7 separate regions of the Homo sapiens genome follow, and all the other regions are linked to region 3. The links are contacts of gene promoters, found by promoter capture Hi-C in blood cells and fetal thymus (Javierre and others, 2016). All regions are on one chromosome and are shown on one strand. The core of a region is centred on a gene start or on the middle of the fragment in contact, and the rest is flanking DNA. Distances in the headings are between cores, read along the strand shown. Region 1 holds the start of GALNT3 (polypeptide N-acetylgalactosaminyltransferase 3). Region 2 has its middle 20 kb from the start of GALNT3. Region 3 holds the start of SCN2A (sodium voltage-gated channel alpha subunit 2). Region 4 overlaps TTC21B (tetratricopeptide repeat domain 21B). Region 5 overlaps GALNT3 (polypeptide N-acetylgalactosaminyltransferase 3). Region 6 overlaps COBLL1 (cordon-bleu WH2 repeat protein like 1). Region 7 holds the start of SCN1A (sodium voltage-gated channel alpha subunit 1).

The links. Contacts are between HindIII fragments. The CHiCAGO score rates a contact against its expected background, and 5 or more counts as called.
Region 1: a contact is called between the fragment with the promoter of GALNT3 here and the fragment with the promoter of SCN2A in region 3, in 5 of 17 cell types (megakaryocytes, M2 macrophages, erythroblasts and 2 more). The highest score is 10.6, in megakaryocytes.
Region 2: a fragment that was not itself captured here is called in contact with the fragment with the promoter of SCN2A in region 3 in 1 of 17 cell types (megakaryocytes); the score reaches 6.0 in megakaryocytes.
Region 4: a contact is called between a fragment that was not itself captured here and the fragment with the promoter of SCN2A in region 3, in 1 of 17 cell types (megakaryocytes). The highest score is 6.4, in megakaryocytes.
Region 5: a contact is called between a fragment that was not itself captured here and the fragment with the promoter of SCN2A in region 3, in 1 of 17 cell types (megakaryocytes). The highest score is 5.3, in megakaryocytes.
Region 6: a contact is called between a fragment that was not itself captured here and the fragment with the promoter of SCN2A in region 3, in 1 of 17 cell types (total B cells). The highest score is 5.3, in total B cells.
Region 7: a contact is called between a fragment that was not itself captured here and the fragment with the promoter of SCN2A in region 3, in 4 of 17 cell types (naive B cells, total B cells, fetal thymus and 1 more). The highest score is 7.6, in naive B cells.

The regions. Positions count from the first base shown.
Region 1 is chr2:165,792,892-165,796,510 of GRCh38, reverse strand. GALNT3 (polypeptide N-acetylgalactosaminyltransferase 3) reads left to right here and starts at 2,264. Exons shown (of 11, transcript NM_004482.4): 1 at 2,264-2,496. LOC124906086 reads right to left here and starts at 2,925. Exons shown (of 6, transcript XM_047446887.1): 1 at 2,719-2,925; 2 at 2,174-2,592; 3 at 1,432-1,711. The coding sequence starts at 2,925. RefSeq lists silencers at 2,322-2,471, 2,542-2,631 and enhancers at 1,702-2,607, 2,608-3,514. The HindIII fragment of the contact is 5,078 bases long and covers 1-3,329 here.
Region 2 is chr2:165,812,964-165,816,094 of GRCh38, reverse strand. No RefSeq gene overlaps it. Among named protein-coding and RNA genes, the nearest start is that of GALNT3, 20 kb to the right of the region's middle. The HindIII fragment of the contact is 576 bases long and covers 1,346-1,921 here.
Region 3 is chr2:165,238,022-165,241,559 of GRCh38, reverse strand. It overlaps SCN2A (sodium voltage-gated channel alpha subunit 2), which reads right to left and starts at 2,146. Exons shown (of 27, transcript NM_001040142.2): 1 at 1,920-2,146. The HindIII fragment of the contact is 782 bases long and covers 1,659-2,440 here.
Region 4 is chr2:165,888,586-165,892,019 of GRCh38, reverse strand. It overlaps TTC21B (tetratricopeptide repeat domain 21B), which reads left to right. Exons shown (of 29, transcript NM_024753.5): 23 at 1,032-1,182; 24 at 1,380-1,541. Among named protein-coding and RNA genes, the nearest start is that of TTC21B-AS1, 44 kb to the left of the region's middle. The HindIII fragment of the contact is 1,398 bases long and covers 1,250-2,647 here.
Region 5 is chr2:165,755,952-165,759,278 of GRCh38, reverse strand. GALNT3 (polypeptide N-acetylgalactosaminyltransferase 3) reads left to right here. Exons shown (of 11, transcript NM_004482.4): 6 at 415-532; 7 at 2,032-2,232. Among named protein-coding and RNA genes, the nearest start is that of GALNT3, 37 kb to the left of the region's middle. The HindIII fragment of the contact is 2,994 bases long and covers 310-3,303 here.
Region 6 is chr2:164,713,121-164,716,517 of GRCh38, reverse strand. All of the region lies in intron 7 of COBLL1 (cordon-bleu WH2 repeat protein like 1), which reads left to right. Among named protein-coding and RNA genes, the nearest start is that of SNORA70F, 27 kb to the right of the region's middle. The HindIII fragment of the contact is 3,074 bases long and covers 1-2,950 here.
Region 7 is chr2:166,127,268-166,130,688 of GRCh38, reverse strand. It overlaps SCN1A (sodium voltage-gated channel alpha subunit 1), which reads left to right and starts at 2,669. Exons shown (of 29, transcript NM_001165963.4): 1 at 2,669-2,918. The region is part of intron 2 of SCN1A-AS1 (SCN1A and SCN9A antisense RNA 1); the gene reads right to left. The HindIII fragment of the contact is 448 bases long and covers 1,510-1,957 here.

The sequences.
Region 1 (3,619 bases), core at 1,015-3,514, 550 kb before region 3:
TACTTTACACAAACTTTGTTTCATGCATAAAATTATTTACAATGTTTTATAAAATTACCTTAAGGCTATGTGTATAAGGTGTATATGAAACATAAATGAATTTTGTGTTTAGACAGGTCTCATCCCCAAGATATCTCTCTCTCTCTCTCTCTCACTCTCTCTCACTCTCTCTCTTTCTCTCTCTCTATATATATGACACTCAACGTGCACAAGTAATGCCACACTCAGAAAAACTGCTTCCTTCTTTAAATTGTCTGTCTCCATTGTAAAACTGACAGTCAAATTTTAGTAACTCCTGATCTTTTTTGTTTCTTCTGTTCTTTTTAGACTCCTCATCCAGCATTTTGGTCCTGTTTGCTGGCTCTCTCTTTTAATAGGTCTACCCTAGCTTCTCTTTTCAGTTGTTATTTGACGTTACTAGTCTTGCTGTCAATGCATCTCAGTCCTTGGATTCCAGATTGTTATTCTATATCCATCTGCTCTGTCCTGATTGTCAGTGAAAAGTGTTGCTCTTCGCCTGGTGGGACATCAAAACTCTGACAATCTTTGGCTCTTCATTCAGAGATGGGTGGTGCGTGCAAAAGGGTACAGGTTTCTTGGTTATACATTTAGGATACCTTACAAATTTTCCAAAGACTAACATTAACCTCTGGTTAGGGGTAAACGACAAAGTGGCACAACGAAGAAGAAGGAGAAGGAGAAGAGAATTTCAGTAGTTAGTATTTTCAGTTCTGGACCTGGACCTAAGGAAAAACACTGCCAAGTTAGTATATCAATACACACAAGTATCTCCTGAACTATTTTTTTGTTTGTTTGTTTTTGGAGGGAAAGGGAGCTTGGCAATTGCTTGTAGGTACTGATATTAAAATGTTGCAAATACATGGAGGTTCCTTGGTGCTCGCAAAATAACCATGACATGTAAAACAAGCAAAGAACTACCTAGTTTACTAAAGTCTTAAACCCTAACTCATAGATGTCCTAGTATAAAATAGCACTATGGATGCTAAAACCAATGTCTTAGAGTAGTCAAATACTAAAGATACACTTGTTGATACTATACTAAACTGTATTTTAAACCTTATTTTTAGGTCACGCATAGCACTAATAAAACAGTGAATAAGCACCATAAGAGCATGTCAAAATGTAGGAGGAAGGCCACAACTAAACTTCATAGTAAAACCTACCACCATGTGATTAAACACGACACCAAAAAGTTTTTAGCTAGTTTTCTATTTATATCCCTAGATATCTTTGGGATAGGGCCAAAGAAATGAGTTCATAGAAAGGTATAAAGGCCATTTTAAGTCCTGGTTTTGGGTGTGTCAATGTTTGTTGCAGCAGCAGAAGGAAGGCTGAAACAGAAAGTTGTGTCATAAATGGAACAAATACTGTTTAACAATTTTTTTTTGTCTTAAAAACAGCAAAACCCACCATCTTCCTGGAGTCTGCGTTGTTCTCTTCCAGAATAGATGTTGAGCTTTTAAACAAACCTGCAGTAGAAGCAAGCCCTCTCCAGGAAATCCCAATCTCTTTCCAAACAGGGACAGCAAAGGTTCTCTCTGTTGTGGCTGTTTTTCCCTCTCTTCTGGGAATTGGTTTGCCTTCTGAGAGCATCCCAGGAAGGGGAGGTGCGCCCCAAATTGGCGAGGCTCTGCCAAATACCAAAGGCTCTTCTTTGGAAGAAGACTCCTCCTTTGGACGTGAGGCGCCCCTACCAGAGCGCCCGCGTACAGAAACGGAAACCACTAGCTGCGCTGAAGTGAGTCAAGTGATGAAATCAAGACTACACGGGAAGGAAGCTCACGAAACCTAACTGGTGACAGAAGCTGCTGAACCCTGCCCGAAGAAACCACATGAGCCAGCAGTTGCTGCCCTCCCGAAGTGGTCCTCGGAGGCAGCGCACCCCTTCATTTTGGCGAACCGAGGAGGAAGGGAGGAACCGTGTGGGGGAAATCTAGAACTTCTGGTTCCCCAAGGACCCAGCAGACTGTGTTCTGGCTACAAGGTGATCACTGCCACCAGGTCAGTGCAGGATTCCTCCAATGTAGATGGGCCGGGAGCCACAACTTGCGCGGAGCAGCAGCCTCGCCGACCACTCAGAGAGAAGCCGCGCGACAGCCAGGCTTGGCCCGGACGGCGCCCCCACCCTGCGCGCGCGATCCAAGGTTCTCACCTGGAGCGCTCAGGTAGGGCTGGGGCGGGGCGGGAGGCTGGCGCGCAGGCGCGGAAGTGGGGCCTCGCCCCTGCCGACGTCGCAGGCTGGAGCTCACCTGGGAGACTCCAAGTGGAAGCCGAGCCTCGGTTCTGCCTCTCCAGGCAACGCGGGAGGCCCAGCGGGAAGGCAGGAGGCGGCGGCGGAGGAGGAGCTCTACTGAGCCGCAACTGTGGCGACAGCAACCGGAGTCGCAGCCGCCGCCACCTGCACCTGGCGCCTAGCCCACGTCCAGCGCCTGCCCGGCCGCCGCTTCCCGCCACCCTGCCCTGCCCACCCGCCAGGTAAGCCGGCGGCAGGCGGAGGGAGACGCGGTACCCCTGGGCTGCGTTAGAGCAGGCGGGAGGACGGCCGCAGGGGTTCACGTGTTGGGGACAGGGCTACGGTCCAGGTGGCCGGTTGGAGACGGTCTCGAGAGCAGTGTGTCGGTTGCCCCTGGAGAGATCCCGAAAGGGGCGCCCTGGGCCAAGGGGCAGGTGGCGCCTCGGGGGGGAGCCCGGTCACACCCTCTCGCCCACGGTGCCCCCGCCAGTCCCTATGGGGCGGCCCCTGAGGAGCTGGACGGAGACCAAAGACCTGGTGGCCCCGGACTTGCCCTTGGGAGGGTCGCAGCGTGGGGACCCTGAGAGGGAGGGCCCGGCGGGAGGCGGGCGCGCTTCCACTCCGGCTAGCAGGTTGCCTGTCTCCTCCAGCCTCTCTGCCCGAGAGGACATCCCGCGACAGCGAAAGACATGGCTTTGCCAGGCAACTTTCCTAGCCGGGGACCCCAAACAGTTCTAGGCTGCAAACCGCGGCCGCCGAGCCATTTAAATGGTTTCCGAGTGGTTTGGAAAGGGCTCTGTGGCCGGGACGCGGACACCCCTCTCTCTCTGTTTCGACTCTGCACTTTTCCGGGTGCGCTCTCCAGGCCAGAGTTGGGCCCACTTTCCTGATCAATGGAGAAGAGTTCTTTTCTTCCGTGGCGGGAAGAAATCCAACTGCCACGCACCAACCACTCACCATCTCGTTAGAGGACCTGTTGACTTAAGGACCTGCATATCGCGGCTATGGTTTGCCTGTGGCATATGACTCAAAGGTTCAAAAAAACATTGTTTCAGGATCCTGCCACGTCTAAGCTTGGGTGTGCCAGGCCCAGATTCCTTTCCCTGCCTAATTAGGCTTTTCTGAAGCCTAAGAATTGAGGGTGAAACTGGCGCTTACCTTAGACTTTTATTTCCTTCTCTTTCCAACTCATCAAAGAAACTATTTCTGTTTTAAGAACCCCATCGAGTTACCAATATTTCCGATTCTTGAAAACGTTAACATAACTTGCTATAGAAGTTACACTACATAATGAAGACATTTACAGTCAAATTCTATAGCTAAAAAATATTAAAGTGACAGCATTTTAATTAGAAAATCTCTGCT
Region 2 (3,131 bases), core at 384-2,883, 580 kb before region 3:
GAAGGTGAACACAATGATAATATTGGAGTCCCAAACATTTGGCTTTGAGATACCATATTTATCAGGGAATGAGATAGAAATGAAGAAGGCCAGTGTAAATGAGGAAGTTAGACAAGATGCAAATAATTATATTACCATTATTCTTAGTACTATACTCTAGTTCCTGCTTCTAATTAAAGAACCTCATATTTCAATCAGTTACTGTCCACACTGCTGAGCCTAGTTTAGGATGATTATATTTTTGACTCTGCATAACATAAAATTGTAGGAGTGGAGGTGAAAAAGTTCAAGGGAGAGGGGTATGAAAAAGGAAGTGTTTACCAAGAGAAAATTTAGCATAGGTCTGCATTACTTCCTTGTGCAGCCATTGATACTTCTTGTTCTGCTGGTTTTAGTCTAAGTTTTCCATTTTATATCTCTATTTGCTGAAAGACAACAAGAGAAAAGCTGGGCCTGGAAAAGAATTGGCCCACAAGATAGTTTTAATAATGGCTAATATTTTGAGTGCTTACAATTTGCAGTCACAGTGCTAAGACTTTGATCATCTGACTAAACCCAGTGCTCATGATGTAGGCACTATTGTTAACCTAAGTTTACAAATGAGGAAATGGAAGCTTAGATTGGTTAAGAAAAAAATAAAACTAACCAAGGCACACAGCTGTGCTTTAATCACTATTCTAAAATGACAAATGAATGATGTGAGTATAATAACCTGAGATGAGACAATGGCTGAGTAAGAAGGGTCTTGGCCTAGGAATAAAAGGGCTCCGTTTTTCATCTGCCTCGATTATGGGGTTATTGTGAAAAATCAGCTAATGTCTCTTTTAAGGCCTCTGTAAATGTACACGAACCAAAAACACAATGCATTACTCTAGTACACATAAGACAGAATGGTTTGAGAATTAGGAAAATCCCATCAGAAAACTAAAATTGAGGGAGTCCACACTTAATATTAGAGGGAGAAAGATGGCTATATGACTATTTGATTAGGTATTCTGATGTTTGGGGCAGACAGAGGAGGATGGGCCCAAGATGCTTTGTAGGAAAGCAAAAAAGCAAAAGAGGAAATACCAAATGAGGATGAGTAGGTGTTGGCTAGCATAGCATGGAGATGTTTAGACAAAAAAAAAAAAAAAAAAAAAAAAAAAAAAGGAGAAAGCAGCAGAAGGAGACAGAGACACCTAAAGCCCAATTCCAAACTAGAGAAACAAGGAAGTGGATTTTTCTCTGGCTGCTGGATTGTCTATGTTTGCCACTGTGGCTGCTGAAACAAATGCTAACCTACTTGGTCTTGTGCATATTTGTTTTGTGGATGCATGGGCCATCTGTGTTCCGTCTATAAGCTTCGCTTGCTTTGCTTTTCTTTCCTCTCTTTGTCTCTTTCTTCCTTTCTTTCTTTCCTCTCTTCTCCTTCCTCCCTCCTTCTCTCCTTCCCTTCCTTCCCTTCCTTCCCTTCCTTCCCTTCCTTCCCTTCCTTCCCTTCCCTCCCTTCCCTTCCTTCCCTCCCTTCCCTCCCTTCCCTTCCCTTCCCTTTCCTTTCATTTCCTTCCTTCCTTCCTTCCTTCCCTTCCCTTTCCTTTCGTTTCCTTCCTTCCTTCCTTCGTTCTTTCCCTCCCTCCCTCCTTGGAAGCTCATGAAGTTGAATTTGAGATTTTTGCCAAATATCTTAAACCAGTGGTCTTCAAATTTAGTAAGAATTGGAATCCCTGAGATTTGTTTGCCAGATTTAGCAATTAAAAGTACAGGATACTCCATTTAATTTGAATTTCAGATAAATAATAAATTTTTTTTTAGTATAAGTATGTTCCAAATATTGCATGGGACAGACATACTTATACTGAAAATTGTTCATTGTTTATCTGAAATTCAAATTTAACTGGATGTCCTATAATTTATCTGGCACCTCTAGCTGGGGGAAGCTTGTTAAAATACAGATTTACTAGTTTCATCTTCTAACTCTGTCAGTTAGTCTGAAATGGAGCCACGTGGGCCTCCAGGTGATTCCAGTGCAGCTTGTTCTTGGACAACACCTTGAGAGATACTGGTCAAGCTCGGATGATGCTGACTTGAGGCTGAAACATTTCAGGAGGAGAGAAGGACACCTGGGAGAGAGGAGGGAGCTATGCATAACCATGGTAAACCCAGGGATGCTAGAGGACCTGGTCCTTGAGTAAGACCAGAAATAGCTCTGAGTGCTAGGACCCCAGTATGGTAACAAAAGAAGACACTGATTGAGCCCCACTGTTGTCATTTAATCCTCTCAACAGCCACATGAGAAAGATAACTCTTATTGTCTGTATCTCATTAGATGAGGAAATAAGAGCTCAGGATTAATTAACTTGTCAAAGGTCGTATAGGTAGTACTGAGTGGAATCAGGGTTTGATCCAAGACTGGTTATTTCCAAAGTCCACATTCTGAGCCAGTCCTATGAAAAAATAGTAGGCTTGAGGAGTTTTGTCAATACAACCATGTATATATATTGCTAAGTTACCTAAAGTATAGTCAGGGATGTGACATTTGCCCTCTGGAAGTGCTCAAACATCTCTACATTCTAATATATAACAGGCAAAGTGTCTGGGCATTTGTGAAAAGCCTAAAGATTTAAGCTACTAAAATATTTGGAGACTGATTAGTTGAGATATTGTTTAAGGAAAGCTTTTTTTGTCTAGAAGGCTCAGCCACATCGCCAAACCCATCATCCTAAAGGAAAGTATGTCAAGGGACCACTTCCTTTGGAGAATAGACCAACAATTCTCTCACCAGTTGACTTGAGACAGCTGAAAAGGCTCAAGAGAATGTCAGATAAGACCACTAGATACAGGGAACAGGTCAGTGGAGGAATTGGAGCCAATTAGACTAGAAGAAAGACAGCTCGAAGAAAACATGGCTAAGGATTCCTAACATTTGTAGAGCTGGTAAAGAGAAAAGGCAATGGGGAAGGAGGGATATGACTTGGAAAAGGATTTGACTCAATAACTATGTGGTACATTGCACTGTTATTCCAGATATTTACGGCTGTTCTCTGGGTTGTCTTGCTCCTGGCCCTGTCCTTCTCTGTGGGATGACTCCATGTGATGCATGTTGGCTAATGACATGTGGAAGCTCTAATGGCCAGTATACGATCCTCCAG
Region 3 (3,538 bases), core at 897-3,396:
AGACATGACACATTTTAATCCCTTTCTTTTCTCAAGATATTGAAGAAGTAGGGTAAAGCCTGTGCCTAGTAAGTGAACAAAGGAGGAAAGGCTTGGACATGAGATGATATTCTTATAGTTGTCAATAGATTAACCTATATGTACAATCTTTTCTATTAGGTAGGAGGGAAAGCCATGTGGCCATCCACATCATTCATGAGCATAGGGTAGAAGAGTATACACCACCTAATAATGAAAAAGGCATACTAAGAAACAGAGTTTCCATAGTTGTCATTCAGTTTTCTTGGATGCTTTGACAAGAAACCTAAGAAAATTGAGCACTGCATATAATATGCCATTGAGCAACAGTATACTGAAAGAAACTCTATTTTACAGAATATAACCAAACACACACACACATGCACACACACACACACACACACACGCACAGTGAATATCATCATACCTGGTCTATGCCATCCTGATATGTTCACACTAGAGGTGAATTGTGTTACTGCTATGGAAGATGTGGAACTGTCAATCACTGTTCTAGCCTTGCCTTATTGTAATTTAGTACGTGACTCTGGGAAATCCACCTTATCTCTCAATTACAATTGCTTTTCTTTAAATGATAATGGGGATAAATGGTTAAATATCTGTAATTCTAAAAATCTCCATGTATATGGAGCCATGTAGAACTACAAACTCTATAGATTCCACACATTTAAAAAACATGTTTTTTTCATGGTTTGTCCAAACCATTTTATAAAATCATTCCCCATAGCTTTCACAACCTCTGACATGGCAAAACTACCTCTTTACAGGAAAACAATGACTGAGATAAAAACATCCTGATGCACCTCCACCGCCTGCCACCTCCACCATCACACACACACACACACACACACACACACACACACAGCTCTTTCCACAGGAGAAAGAAGTGAGGCATTTAAAAACAATCTTACAAAACTATTTTTAAAATATTTGTAAAATCTCTTTAAATTTCTCTAAATGAAAATCAGTGGTTTTTAAATATAGGATTTCTATATGTCTTTATTCCTGTTATTCTAATAATAATCAAGCAAGGATTTAAGGGAAATCACGAGAAGCAGCAGAGAGAAGCAAGGCTGTTGCATGCAACTTCCACCTCCTGAGTCATTCCACTCTTTAACACAGATAATGTCACATGACCTAAAATAATTTAAAATGTGAGCACCTTCTATAATATCAACTATTTAAAATGGCCACGGTTCTATTATCCCAAATCCAATAAAATACAGAAAAAATCAATTTTCATGGCAATTAATTTGTGTTCAGCATACTCCTCACATCCATACTGGGGGAGGAGGGAGGGTCTATAGTCTCATTCCAAGTCTATTAAACACATTACATAAATCTTGATTCATGTGGGAGAAATGACTTACGTATTATTTCTAAGAGGTAAAAATAAAGACATAAACAATCTGTACCATCATAGCCAGCAGAAATCGTTCAAAAGGCCTTTGGACTCAGAATATTGGCTTGCCTCTGAGGCTGCAATCAGAAGGCTCAGCCCTGAGCTTTGGCAGAGCCACTGCCATGTTAATCTGCTTCATTATATCTCTACAATTTGTTCACTGCATTAAGGAGCAGTATTTCCCTTGTGAAAGGAAAACCCATCCTTCACTTTGAAAGCTTTACCTTTAAAAGGTAAACAAATACAGCCAGAGACAGAGACCAACAGCTAGAAAGCCAAAGAAATAATAAAACACGGTATGTCATAGTCAGAGCTCATTTCAGCCTAGGAAGATTTTAAATTGCACAACAGCTAGAATTAGAGCTTTTGAATCTCTTAGATCTGAATACAAGCTAACAAAGCACACATCTTATATTAAATGTCATTCTTAACATAGATAACAATCCGTGGATAAGTCAAAAATAGAATCATGCTGGCTTACCTGAAATAAAGAAAAATGTAAATCATAACACAGAATCCACGTATGTGTTGAATATAACAGTCTCCAATGCAATTCTTCAGAATTTTTACTGGAGTAGAAAGTAAAATCTCACATGTGCTCTATCCTCATTAAAGAAGAAAAAAACAAGAAAGGATGACCACAGCATCCTCCCTCCTTTGCCTTAGCTTTCTGTTCTGACAGTCATTCGATGGTACCCAATGTCTGTTAGAAAACAGCATGCTAAATTAGAAAAATAAATAAATAAAGGCAGCATCTTACATGACAGCTCCATCTCCTGGTCAAAAGTGGAACCATCTTAATTCACGTTCCTTTGGCTATGTAGCAGTCAGCACATAAAATTAAATGATGTACAGCCCATAATTCCACTCTATTTGAAATCAACTACTTTAATTAACTGTAATTTAAACATTTAAGAAGAATTATAGTATGAATTTTTAGAATTATAATTCTATTTTGGGGATTCAAATTTCTTTACATTATGTTTAAACTAAATGGAAGCTTTTCCCATCATTGAAAACTTAAGATTTATTTAACTTTATATACCATCTGAAAAAGTAATATGTATCTCCTATAAAACAATTTTAGATGTCAAGCTTATTGATAATGAACATCACATCTCTTTGTGGAGAAGTATAAGTTTTTGTCACTAGAGAAGTTAACACATAACACTTGTGTTGCTATTGTTTGGAGGAATGTTGAAAGGTTAAAGATAAGGCAGGAAAATTAAATGACTTAAAGGCAAACTTGAAAAATCTTTAGTTAATCTAATCTAACTACAAAAATACAGACGACAAGTTACATGCAACATGAAATTTGATAATTGTAGTAGTATACTATAGTGTGTAGTTACATCTTCTTAGAGAGATAAGAGAAAATTAAATTGTCAAAAGAATCCATTTGGTAAATGACACCATTTATAGAATCAAAGTTTTACTGAGCATATGATGTTCTCAATATATGTTTGTTTAATTAATTATTCTTCTTATGAACAGTTGTGAAGGCCAGGATCATTTTTTTAAAATTTGAAGTAAAAGGATAGGCATTTTTTTTCTCCCACTTTTTTACAACACCATTTTAATTTGGGGCCAAATCGATCTTTAATTTCCTATTGCAGTAACGCTGTCCATGGTGCTGAGAACCAATTTTAGAACTCATGGTGAGTTCTAGGTCTTAAACGGGTCTGAAATACTGTCTTTGTCAGATTTGATATAAAATTTACCATTAAAAGTCCCCAGATCAGCCAGAATAATTGATAGTATCTAATATAAAAATAGTTAAGTAATTTTTTTATCCACAAAATATGTATATACACATGTCCATCAGAAGCCAAAATGCTGATAAATACATTTAATAAAATACATGATTGCAAGCTACACTTTCTTTGGATTCATAATATTTTATTTTCTGTGTGCTAAAGTTATACTGAATAGATTGCTTTAACATAAGGTTGTTCCCACACTATTAAATAGACGAGGAAACCAAAGCCCACTCTTCAGTAACTTATCCAGTATTAATAAGCAAGTCAGAAGAACAAACCCAGTTTCTTAAATTTTACCTTACTTCCATTTCTACAACATTATTAAGATGTATTAGTTTGG
Region 4 (3,434 bases), core at 699-3,198, 650 kb before region 3:
TTCATCAAAATCAACATTAAAACCAATCAAAACCGATCAAAATCAAAACCCCAATGTGACTCCAGTTTTGTATATATTTAAATAAACATCTATTTTGTATGAATGTAAACAAAGAAATATCTTTGCTTACATTTATATATAGGTTGGTTTTCAAATATATGAAAGAAAGCACACCAAAATGTGCTAATCTTTAGCTGGAAATATGGTGATTTTTTTTTTCTTCATACTTTTTATATATATTTTCCTTATTTTCTGTAGTGTCTATACATTATTTTTGCAATCCTAAAAAAGATTTATTAAATTATTCTCAAAGCTTAGTTTGTTACTGATAAGAGAGAACTAGATAGAATTGGAAGAAGGCTTTCTAGGAACCTGCCAGGAAATTATACCTGAGATCAAAGGAATGAATGAATGAATGAATGAATGAATGAATGAATGAATGAATTTTTTTTAGAAGAAGGTGAAACAGGATTAAAATATGGGGACTAATATGCTAAGGTTCTAGTATGGTAAGCTAGCATATGGTATGTTAGCTACATGTACATATCAAAGAGAGACTGGAGAAAAATTTCTTATTGTCCATCCCATACATTATTTGTCAATTGTACTGTTCCCACACCCTTCCTAGCAACAGTATGTAGGAGAGGGGTTCTCAGAGACCGACAGTGAACTTGTCCTGTGCAATTAAATCGGTATTCCTGAACTTCACAGTTGAAAGTCTAGATTACCTAGGTAGGGGCTGTTTCTCTAAGGTTTTGGTCCCCCAAACAATAGAAAAGCTACAAGAAATATGCATTTTTCTAGATTTGCCTATGTAGACACTGTGACCAGCCTAGCCCAAACTGTATTATTTAGTAGATCATCTAGTTGGCCATACAGCCTCTATAGGGAATTATACCCTGAGGCATTTTTTATTTATATTTAAAATGTACTTTATATGAAGTAAATTATACTCTAATGAAGTAGAATTATAACCAACAAAAGAAACAGTATAAAATGGTGCCCATATCTGAAGTATTATTTGTTTCTAGATAATTATATGACATTATCTCGTTTGATTGATCTCCTAAGAAGATGTGGAAAACTCGAGGATGTCCCAAGATTTTTCTCAATGGCTGAGAAACGTAACTCCAGAGCAAAATTGGAACCAGGATTTCAGTATTGTAAAGGACTGTATCTTTGGTAAATCTATTTACAAATAAATGCTACATGATTTTTTTTTCTCATTGTAAATCAAGTAGAATAAGCTTTTCTTTGTAGTAAAAAAAAATGTACATTTCAAAATAATTCAACAGTTTTATTTACCAGACAGATTATAAACTAATATAAATTTTGTAGTCAGTGATTGAAATAAATAATTCTTTTAAACATCTAACAAGGTACACTGGAGAACCAAATGATGCCCTTCGACATTTTAATAAAGCTCGGAAAGATCGTGACTGGGGCCAAAATGCCCTTTATAATATGATAGAGATCTGTTTGAATCCAGATAATGAAACTGTTGGAGGTGAAGTATTTGAAAACCTGGATGGAGACCTGGGGTGAGTTATTTGACATATTATCCTTTTTTAAAAAACACTTGTTGGAGATAATAAACAGGGATACTATACAAAAGAACTAAATTTAGGATAGCAATAATGAAAGGTCAGATGAATAAATTAAATAAATAGGCATTTCATTGCCTGTTTCAGAGAATAGTTATTTTAGCAAATTGAATAGTTATTCAATAGAATAGTTATTGCTAATGTAACTATTCTGTGAAACAGGCATGAAATGCTTTTAGGTTTCCTAAATAATAATAGACATGCTATGAAGACACTCCCCTAATTGTAGAATTTGACAACTGTAGCAAAAATTATCCACACAATAATAGTAACTACTTAACAAATGGTAGTTATTTTCCAGACCCTGTCCTCTATACTTTCTACACACTATCTCATTTGTTTTCTATAACAGTATTGCAGAATAAGCTGAGTCAACTTGTTTAATGTGATAGTAATGATGGAGGCAAGATTTAGACTGAGTCCTGACTGCTGTTAGTGTGGTATACTGCTAGTCAATGGTTATTTATCAACCTGCATTAGTAGCTTGTCCTCTCTTCTGACTCAGGCAAGGCTTGTGGGGAATGTATTAGGACATAAAGGGAATATAAGAGGTAGTTTCTGTCTTCAGGAGTGTTTAATTAAGAGGCAAGACAATACCTGAAACCTTTCAATCTGCAACTAAATATAAATGGATTTAAATAGATATTAAGTATTGTCAGAGTTTATTAGGAATCATAGCAGTGCATAGTATTCAGGAGAAGATGCATGGAGGAGCTGGAGAAAATTAGTGGTAGATTGCCAAGAGATTTCAACAACAGATTTTAACGCTTGGATTACCGAGACCAGTTAGAGCAGGGAAGTGGCATGTTTATGGTTGTTTTAGGAAGGTTGAGGTAACATTACTGTTATGGAACTATAAGCTATTCAAGTGGAAATCTTCTTCAGGCAATTCAAAATACAAAACTAAAACTCAGAAAGAGAGGTCACAGCTAGGGATAGAGATTTGGGAGACATCTGCAGAGTGCATAGTTGGAACTCCATGAATGGTCTCTTTGTGAGTGGTAGAATGAAGTAACAAAAATCTGAGAACTAAATGTTAAGCTTGCTAACATTTAAGGGGTCTGGAGGAGGAAGGAAGGTCAGAAAAGGGCAATCAGCATGGTGAAAAGAGAACTAAAGCTGTGTAGTGTTACAGAAGCCAAGGGAGAAGAACTTTGAAGTGGTAGTCAACAGCGTGACATGTTTAGGCAAGATAAGCCTAAGGCCTGAGAAGAAGACCAGTGGCTTTAGTGATTGGACTTTGAGTGTTTAATTTCCTTTTATTAATTGATTTATGTATATTTATGTGCATGGGTTTGTGTGTATAAAATAAGAAAATTGCTATTAAATATTCAAATTGCACTTGAAATTACTGTTTGACACATATATAATTTCTGAGAGTCTGATAGGCAATGTGGTGAAGAGAACAGAGTAGATTTTATATGTCTGATAAGCTTAGATTCAGGTCCTAGGTTTACCACTTACTAGCTGTGTGACCTTTAGAAAATTACTTTACCTGTTCAAGCCTCAGTTTTCCTGTGTGTAAAATGGATTAAACATAGAATGAAATAATACAGTATTTGTCACTTTTTTCCTTTCCTTTCACTTTTTGAATAGATATATGTTAATTTTCTGATTCTACTTATAGTTTTATATTTGCTGGAATGCACACATTTACAACATGTAGATATTATCCAACTTTTGTCTTCATTCTAGAGGAAATTAATGCTTAATGGTGTTTTATTGAGTCCATATTAATTTTGTTTAAAATGCATTGTAACTGTGCTTCACTTTGTATTAGAAGAGAATGAGTGACATTCTTTACAAAAGATTACTTTTAAATGAGTGACA
Region 5 (3,327 bases), core at 557-3,056, 520 kb before region 3:
TACACACTGTTTGCTTTATAGCAATTGCCTCTGAGGTAATTGATAAAGAACACACATATTCTATATAAAGAGAATCTAAAAGTCATTCATTTGTGTACTTGCTTATACATGATGTTGCTGAGTAAGAGGTAGCAGTGAGTGAGCTCTTATGTCTTCCTCATCAATCATTACTTAAAAATCGTAAAGCATGGTTAGGAGAAGACATTTAAGTTTACTCCAATGGGAGAGGACACGAAGTACTCCCCCCGACCCCAAAAATCTTGACTTTGAAGATAGCATTTCTAGTTTTTATTAATCTGAATAAAAGCTTTGAAAATGTGATATGGCTTTAATTTTTTAACTTCAGTTCTTAAAATATGCTGTTTTATCTTGTTTAGTTTTTATAACAAAATTTGACAATGGATTATTTTTCAGAACACCCACTTTTGCAGGAGGACTTTTTTCCATATCAAAAGAATATTTTGAGTATATTGGAAGCTATGATGAAGAAATGGAAATCTGGGGAGGTGAAAATATAGAAATGTCTTTCAGAGTAAGTTTATGGAAATTAAATATAGCAGATATATTAAACAATGAAATATATTGTGTTCTAATCGGCTGGTACATATGATTACAGATGTGTGCACTCTACTTTTTGTGCTTTCTGAAACTTAATTGCTGGAAATTTTGGAATAAGAATATTTTCTTTTAATATGTAACTTAATATATTTATTCATTGTCGCCAGTGTAACAAGAGGAATCAGTTAAACTCCTGTGTCCAGGCAGTAACACCAATTAATGCACTTGTAGCTACTGAATTCCAGCCAAGATAAATATAATTAAATCTAGTGCTTCAGGAAATGAGTTGATCATCAAGGGAGTTAGAATGGAAAAACATTTATGAATAATTTTAAAGGACATTGGACTTAACTGTTTGGAATGAATGAGCTTGATTTTTTCTATACATATTATAAGTTAATATAAAAAAAGGCTTTGGGTAGACTCCGTATGTACCTTATGTATTTGATTTCATGAGTTTCATTTTCTGCAGTAACTTTATCATTCATTTTTCATCTCTTAGGCTGGAATGTAGTGGAAAAAGAACTGAACTAGGAGTTAGAAGATTTAAGTTTTGGCTCTGGCTCCATCACATACTGGCAGTGATGATCTTAGCCAAGTTTGAACTGCTTATGGCGGGGTCTTGTTTATTCATTTCAGTATTTCCAACCCCTAGCACGTGTTGGGTCACAAGCACAGTTTGTTGAATTGAACATATCACTGAGTCTTCTCATTTGTTCAAGAAAGAAAGGAGAGAAAGAGATTTGTAATCACTTGCTCTACTACAAGCACATAGTATTAAATATGACTTATTTTCTGATTCTTTGCTTGGTAACTATGGCAGAGTCAATTATTAAGATATTTAAGTGAAAAGGCATTGATTTCATGATTTGCCATTTTATTTAGCATTAATGCCAATAAGGATTTTTTTTGACGTTTTCTCTCTAAATTGGCATGAATTTTTAAATAATCATCCTCTACTTTGCAAGTTCAGTAGAATGATCATTGGTAATAATAGCCATCTGGAATTGTTTTCTTGGTTACAAAATTGAATATACAAGAGATAAATAGGGTCTGAGTCCACTTATATCCAAACTTTGAAGAGAAACTCTAGTTTAAGTGAAGTGACTATGTCAGTAGTTCAGACAGAAGTCAAATGCATAAGAGCCTTTAGTTTTCTGTGCATATTAGAGAACTTACATAATTATTTGCAAAAACAAAAGCCTGGAATTCATTTTTATGAAAAATCTGAAATCACCATTTTGTTAACTTACTGAAAATGCACTTCTGTTGTCTTTAGTGTCTATGCCATTTAATAAAATAATTCCTTACACTTAAGAACTTAAGTTGAAATGGCAGGGGACAGAGACTATTTGTAATATTGTAATCTCTTCTCTAATTTTGTTTTTCATAATACCTTAAAGGTGAACTTAAAAGCAACACTTTGATTTTTCTAAAATACTGTAAATTTAAACAAATATCATTAATTATCAGGTATGGCAATGTGGTGGGCAGTTGGAGATTATGCCTTGCTCTGTTGTTGGACATGTTTTTCGCAGCAAAAGCCCTCATAGCTTTCCAAAAGGCACTCAGGTGATTGCTAGAAACCAAGTTCGCCTTGCAGAAGTCTGGATGGATGAATACAAGGAAATATTTTATAGGAGAAATACAGATGCAGCAAAAATTGTTAAACAAGTAAGTTAAAGCTAAGTAGTTAAATTGCAATAAAATCTATAACAAGTTCACACGTCCTTTTGCGTCGATTCATCTCAAGTACAAAACATCAAAAAATTTGAAAGTAGGTTTTTAACTCTTAAAGTACATGACTTATGAATCCAAGTTTCCTTTTTTAAGAAAAAAACTAAGTAAACTGCTTTTTAAAAATCAGGAATTCTACTTGATGTTTTTAATATGAAAGATAGTTCATTTTTGTTGCTGCCCTGGTTCAATATTTTACTCGAAGAAAATTAAGTAGAACTGTTTTTACTGGTTTTAGGAGATATAACACCTAAATAAAGGTTCTAAGTGACTTTTTGCACTGGAGATAGAGACAGTGTCTTAATGTGGCATGAGAATAAACCAGGAGTGCCAAGCCTTTTTTTTTCAAGCTCTAGTTTCACTACTTACTGGAGATGTTACTTTGGCAAAGCCTTTGAGAATGTAAAATAGGGAAGACACTTCATAGAGTGGCTGCAAGGTGGCTGGACATGGAGTGCATGCTTAACATATTTCTTTTCTCTCCTTCCCTGTTTTAAGAGATGAAATACGCATGCTGTCTCTCTCCCAGAGTAGCTGTGAAATAAGAAAGTGATAAGTGCTAACAAATATATGGTACTCTTGTTATTAACCTGCCATAAATAGATTCTGCTCTGCAGAATCATGAAACCTAATATATTAGAAGTGAGTTCCAATAGTCTTAATAATATTAGATAAGGTAAATTAACTAGATAGTTTAAGACCATGCTTCAGTGTATAGTACTCATCTCTTTGTAGGAAATAGATAGTGCTAATTTGCAGGGTGAGGGAAGGTGGAGTATTTATTGGGAGTCAAGGGTATCAATATTTTGGCTGTTGCGGTGAAGAACGATTTGGTTACCTCTTTCCCTTTTTCTCTGGTCTCCAGTATCTCCCTGTTAGGATGCAAATTAAGAGCACTACTGAGTTAGATTGCTATCTTTTTACCCAAGGCCATGAAGACAAATTGGGCAGATTGTGTACTGTACAATAGTACTTGGCTAAGCAGGCAAGTGGGCACTAAATGAAGCTTATGCTCTGCTTGTCCCCCACAAA
Region 6 (3,397 bases), core at 164-2,663, 520 kb after region 3:
TCACATTATTTCAAGTCTCATGTCATTTTTCCTATGAAGGTGAATATATCATCTTCTATGAAAATGTTCATTTGAAAAGAAAACTTTCCCATTAGAAATTTTCTGGCAGTATTTCTTGGTAGTTTTTGAGCATTTTTTAAATATGATTTTTCCTGATGATTTGAAATGCCATTTGTGCAACAAGACATATAATAGATCATGCTTTATTTATATGAACCATATAACATATATTCTTATATAAAATGTACACAGTTATTTACGATAAGATTGTCATTTGTGAAATGGGAAGTCAGAAATTCGATTACATTGACTTAAATTGAAAGTGACTTAGAATTCTCAGATAAATCTAAGTTCAGAAATCTAGTTTCTGCACCGTATCTGCTGACCAAGAGTTTATGAAGAGCACATTTAATAAAATCAATGGCCAAAGGATGTTCTGGTCTTATTGACAAATTAGCCTCATAAGCTGATTTTACATTTGAATAAGTGGAAGAAGAGTCAGGGAAAAGTATTTGGTAATCTTGACCCATAGAATTCACAGAACCTTTTGGAGAATTTTTCATTTGGCACATTTGGTGTGACTGCTGCTTGGAATGATGGATATACAACAGCAATCAATTTTTCTCCTGGCTACGGGGATGGCACATCATTTTCTCTGGGATATTACATTGTGGCTGGAAACACTGTAAGAAATGATCTTCACTGGGCATTTTATTTTATCTCATTTTGCATCCTGCTTCAGACAAACACTCAACTATTGAGAAACGGAAACTCTTTGCCATCTAGTATTATGCAAGTGAAATTTAATACCTAGAGTGTTAGTTTTAAAATAACTGACTTAATTTTTTAAATGTTTTACATTATTCATCTTTTATGCAATTTTATATTCTAATATATATCATGGTTTATAAGCAGATAAGATGATGTATTGTCATATACTTATGAAATGTACAGGTACATATTTTGCTATTTTACTTAATTTTAATCCTAGTTATTTTACATAGAGTATGTAAGGTTGTACCCTCTGTTGTAATAGAGTATGTATTTGCAATGTTTAAGAAACATCCCCCTTTTTAGATTTTTACACAGGTTGTTATATTTTATTTTCCCCTCCATTTTCCTCTTATATTTATTATATAGAAAGTGGACCACCATGCATAATTCTACAATTGCCTAGGAACAGTGGTTACCATGGCATTTGCAGTTTGCTGTACAGAATACAGCTGTCTATACTTCCAAAAATATGACTGGTTTCATTCAGTAGAGAAATGTACCAACACAGTATAATATTTAATCTGCTCCCCTTTTTAAGGCTTTCCTAGATATAATACATACTTTGCCACTGTAGTTTTCATCAGATTTTCAAAGGGTCATAATCACAATAACAAAAGCAATGGTGAATGCTTATATAATGCTTACTAATGTTTCAGACAAGGCTCTAAGAACATTACTTATTTAATCCTTATGACAACCCTCTGGGCCATTACATTTTAGGTTTCTGACAGTTTTAGCCTAAAAGAACTATGAATTATGAGGAATTAATAAGTTGTTAAACTTTAAGGAAAAATATATTATTCAAAGAGCAGTAGGTCATTTGTGGAATTAATATGGATTTCTCATTCTTGTCTATTAGTATGTAAAAAGTCGTACCTCTCTAAAATAACATGCTGAGTTAATAAAATAGTATTGAAAATAATTACTGTTAGGAGGCTTACTTTACCAGTATGAAGTTTACTTAGCCTCTCTATCTCTGTGATGTTTGTGACCTCATGGGAAGATTTGCATTTCTCTGGTAACCAGCATGTGTTAACAGAGGCCAGGGCAGATAGAAGCAGGCCTCTTTTCTGGAGCCACAGTGATAACCTTAAGGTGTCCCTGGGATAAGCCTGCTCCCAGCCTTAATTGCCTTTCTGGATGAACTGAGTTGGCCCCAGTTTGTTTGATTGACTGTAGCTTCACTCTGGTATAGGTCCTAAACTCGGTTAACTTCTAGATTATTCACATTCTCCTACCCTGTGGCTAAAAACACCTCTATCCTCATCACTGTGATCACAGGGAATCATGGTTACCACCATTCCCTGTCTTTTAAACTTGATCCTGAGCTCTGCTTTCTGGTGGTTCATCCTGGTTTTTTTTTTTTTTTTTTTCATCCAAGATGTACCATTGAGCTAGACCCTCATCATTGGGCTTTTACTAAATGCTGTATGCAGAGGATTATCATGAGTAAGACTTAGTTTATATACTTTATCAGAGTATCATAGGGTTGATGAAAGCACGGATTGCCTCAGGAAGACAAATGGAAAAAACTTACAGGGGAATAACATGGGATTTTTTAATGTGTGTGTGTGTGTGTGTGTGTGTGTTTCTTTCTATTGTGCCTAGACAAGGGCTGGAAAGAAGAAGTCCTGACCTGGCCTGAGAGAGAGACTCCTGAATTCTACTAATAGGTCTATTATCTTCTTCTTTGCCGTTGTCATTTTTTTTCCTTCACCTTTGCTGAACTTCTCTATGACTTAGTTTTCTCCTCTGTAGAATAAGATTGTGTAATTAAATTTCCCAAAGTCTCTTCCAACTCTAGTATTACAAAATTATGCTATTTTGCTATTTTTTAAAATTGGCCTCTAACAGATGAACGTGCTTGTTTTGGTTTGATCAACGTTAACGAGATGACGGTGTCTAATCCTGGCATTACTCCTCTGAGGATTTCAGAAACTTAAAGTACAATAACAAAATAAAACATTGACTGACATCTTTCTTCCCAAACTCCTGACTGTAACACAAAAGTTAACACAATTGCATAGGTATTGCATTACTAAAAAGAGGTAAAAGACTTGATATTTGATGACGACATGCTTAGGTTAATGAGTTTGTTAACCATGGTAACCATGTTACCATTGACTAATAATGAGTTTTAAAGTAGATGACTTTAAGAGAAATCTAGTGGCAAGCTTGGCCACTCAGAATCCCCTGAATGGGTTTAATTTTATTAACCAAAAAGGTACAAGTTACTGTTGGTGGTGGTATTTAGATCACATATAAGTGAACCTAGCTGTAACCTCATTGCTTCCTCTCATAATATTTATTTCAGCAGATTGGTAGGAGCAGCATTAAAATTGTCCACATAGTGATAGCTGGCCTAGTGTAGATGTAAGAGCTCCAGGCCCTGGTACTGCTGACCTATTTCTTCTCTCGTTATTATAGTTGTCTGGGATCTGACATGCCACCTCTATTCCTTATACCCCTTCACTCTGATGTTATATGACTTTTCTTAATCTACAAAACCTAGGCAGGCTAAGATTTTCTATGCCATCAGTGAAGAATCTTAAAACAGGTTTATATAGAGAATAAGAAAATAGAATGCATAAGCCCTAGATTTTCAGGAGTGTGGAGGAAGTGC
Region 7 (3,421 bases), core at 484-2,983, 890 kb before region 3:
AATAGTCATTTATCTCCTTATGCTCAATGCTTTCAACTTGTCAAATGACCATGTTTCATAAGATACAACATAAAATTGTTCTATAATTAACAAAAGAAAAAAGAATTCTATCTGCTGAGAAAATAGAAAAGACGTTGGAGAAGAGAGAATATTTGACCCAGACATTTAAAATATCCGCCGAATTTGCTATGTGTAGATGGATGAAAGGTCTGCCAAGAGAAGTGAAGGTTGTGAACAAAGACATGGAGGCGGAAGAAAGGTAGTGTGCACACTGAATGCGTTGTGCCTTTCCATATGACTGACATGTCAATGTAAACTCCACAAAGGGAGGGTTTTGATCTGGTTTGTTTGCCGATGTTACTTAAGTATCTGGAAAAGTGCCTGGCATATATCAGGTGCATGAAGAAGTGAATAAATGAAGTGTCAGATGCCCAGAATATGAATAATACTTGATAGATGCAGTACTGGCAACTTTCTTGAAGCTAATGAAGTGGTTAGGACTCCATAGTTCAACAGAAACCAAGTTCACTTAAGCAAACATGGAGTTTGAGTTTATCATGGGACTCAACATCAAGAAAGTGTTTGGATCTTGAGTAGACTGGAGATGGAAACAGTCTGTCTCTGTCTTTTGTCACTTCTTCCTCCACATCTGTGTGGCTGGCTGCTATTTCAGTATCCTGGTCCACCTGGTCCTGAGTCCCCATGGTGAGGGAAAGCTGACTCCATAGCTGCCAGAATCACATGTAGTGGCTCTCTTTGACCAGGTCAGCTGCGTAGATACCCTCTCTTGCTCCAGTCCTCTGTAGCAAGAGGGTAGGTTTACCACTAAGGATCAGGGGAGAAGAACTATTGGGGGAATTGTTAAGAGCAGACACTCAGAAAAATTGGCACCTATAATATGCAATTAGAATTCATTAAAACATGTGGCCAGGTATGTTCTTATTTTGTGTTTTTACATATCTAATCTCTAAGTACTATTCATATGGAATGTATTATTCTAAAAAAATTGCCTGTTAGTTCATGCAGTTCCCACTCTCTTTTCATCTCTAACATCTTGGCAATCGTTTACCAGTTGTTGATCACCTGTCTCCTCATCTTCTTTCAACTTTGCCCTGACTCTACCAGATACTGGGCAACATCATTTCCCAGACATTGAGTAACTTCAAATGAATGTGTTCATGCTACTCCAACTGGCTTTTGGGAAAGCACTGGATAGAGTTTTTGAGCTGGAACAGGAAATTATCTTACTTAATTTCTTTCTTTTATAGATAAAAAGATGGATCCACAAGATGGACCCATTGGTCCATAATTAAGGGCTAGTAAATGTTTTGTAAACATAGAAATCAAAATTACTTTTCTGTGATTCTAGAACAGGAAAAAATGGTGAACTTTTAGGTATGTTGCAAAGAACAGTGGATTATTCTTTGGGCTCTTGGGACCAACAGCCTTAGTTTTATTGCTTTGCAAGCTATGTGGTCTTGAATAAACCTCAGTAAGGCTCAGAAAGCTTCAGTGTTCTCAAGTATAAATAGGAATAATTATAATATAATAACATTAATAGTATTTATCTCACCATCCTGTAATAAGGAAGAGAAGGATTAAATATTGAAGGTTATATTGATAAATGATAAAACACATGCAATGATTGTAATAAGTGTGTTAGATGGCAAAAGAAAAATAATGAGGATGAAATATTTACTTCCAATGACTAATCTACACATAATCGTGATTTTATGTATGACTGAATGTTTAAGGCTGATTCCATTTTAGAATACAATATATAACATAAAAAGCTCTACTCTCAGTTCCAAGAGTTATAATTAGTTTGGCATGGATTTTTATTGTCTTAGAAAAAACTGATATTCATGGTTTTTATAATTCTATCTTTGGGTAATAGGCAATTGGACTCTCTTTCTATATATATTTGCTTATTAAAATGTGTTATTATAATTAAGCTTTAGGCTGTGTCCACAAGATGGGAAAACATTGGAGTAAAATATAGTAAAACCATAGAAATTGAGAGTGGGTTGAAAGTCTTGTTTAATCTGTAATTACAGATGAAGATAGTAAGAATGTAAATGTCCATAGAAGACTTCAGTGGCTTTGTTAAAGGCATGTGTTCATCAGTGTTGAAGTAAAACTCACATTTTGTGACTCTGAGCTGTTCACTATAATATGAAACCTAATCCTAAAACACAATATTAAAACAGAAAAATGTGAAGCCATAGATCTGTAATAAAGGGCCACCTGATTGTTTCCTGGTGGAATAAAAAGACAGTTTTATTTATAAGATATATCATTTTTATAGATAACAATGATTCATATTAGGAATAAAGTAACAGTTTCAAACTAAAATAATGCTAAAGTTTTTCAAGTACTACTTGAAAATAGCTATATTTACTTTCAAACCTTTTCCTCTTTGAGTCATTAGGTTCATGATATTATATAGCAATAGGGAATGAAAGAGAAGCAAGGAGAAGCAATACTGGGAGATTACAGAGAAGAAAGGAAAAAAGGCTGAGAGAAAAGAGGTTGAGGAAGAAATCATAAATCTGGATTGTGAGAAAGTGTTTAATATTTAGCCACTAGATGGCGATGTAATGTAAGGTGCTGTCTTGACTTTTTTTTTTTTTTTTTGAAACAAGCTATTTGCTGATTTGTATTAGGTACCATAGAGTGAGGCGAGGATGAAGCCGAGAGGATACTGCAGAGGTCTCTGGTGCATGTGTGTATGTGTGCGTTTGTGTGTGTTTGTGTGTCTGTGTGTTCTGCCCCAGTGAGACTGCAGCCCTTGTAAATACTTTGACACCTTTTGCAAGAAGGAATCTGAACAATTGCAACTGAAGGCACATTGTTATCATCTCGTCTTTGGGTGATGCTGTTCCTCACTGCAGATGGATAATTTTCCTTTTAATCAGGTAAGCCATCTAATTGTTTCATCTTGATTTTAAGTTTATTCATTCCAGTTATTCCTTTGGAAAAAGAGTCCATGGAAATTCAGTTTGGGCAGAGCAGGAAGTCCATTTTTGTATGTGTATTCAGACCAACTGTCCCCCTCCTCCCTCTCCTCCTCTTCTCCTCCCCTCCCCTCCCCCCTCCTCTCTCAACCTTCCATGAACTGAAATCAGGTTTGTTTTGCAGTTCAGCATTTTGATAGAAGATGGGATTCTTTGGCCTGAAATAGCTTGGCATCTGGCCAGTTCTTGCCTTTGCTTGCCTTCATCCTATTCAAGGTCCCTTTTGATCCTGTTGAAGCCCCCTCCTTCACTGGTGCTTTGGAAGTGGACTAGCTGGCTGGGAATAGAGGTCATATTGTTCTTAAGGACGGAGCAAAAATTAGATCTCAGTTTTAACTCCACAGGAAGAAAGAAGGCAGCGGGGCTGCTGCTGGAGCCTAGCATTGCAGGGGTATTCAGCTTCC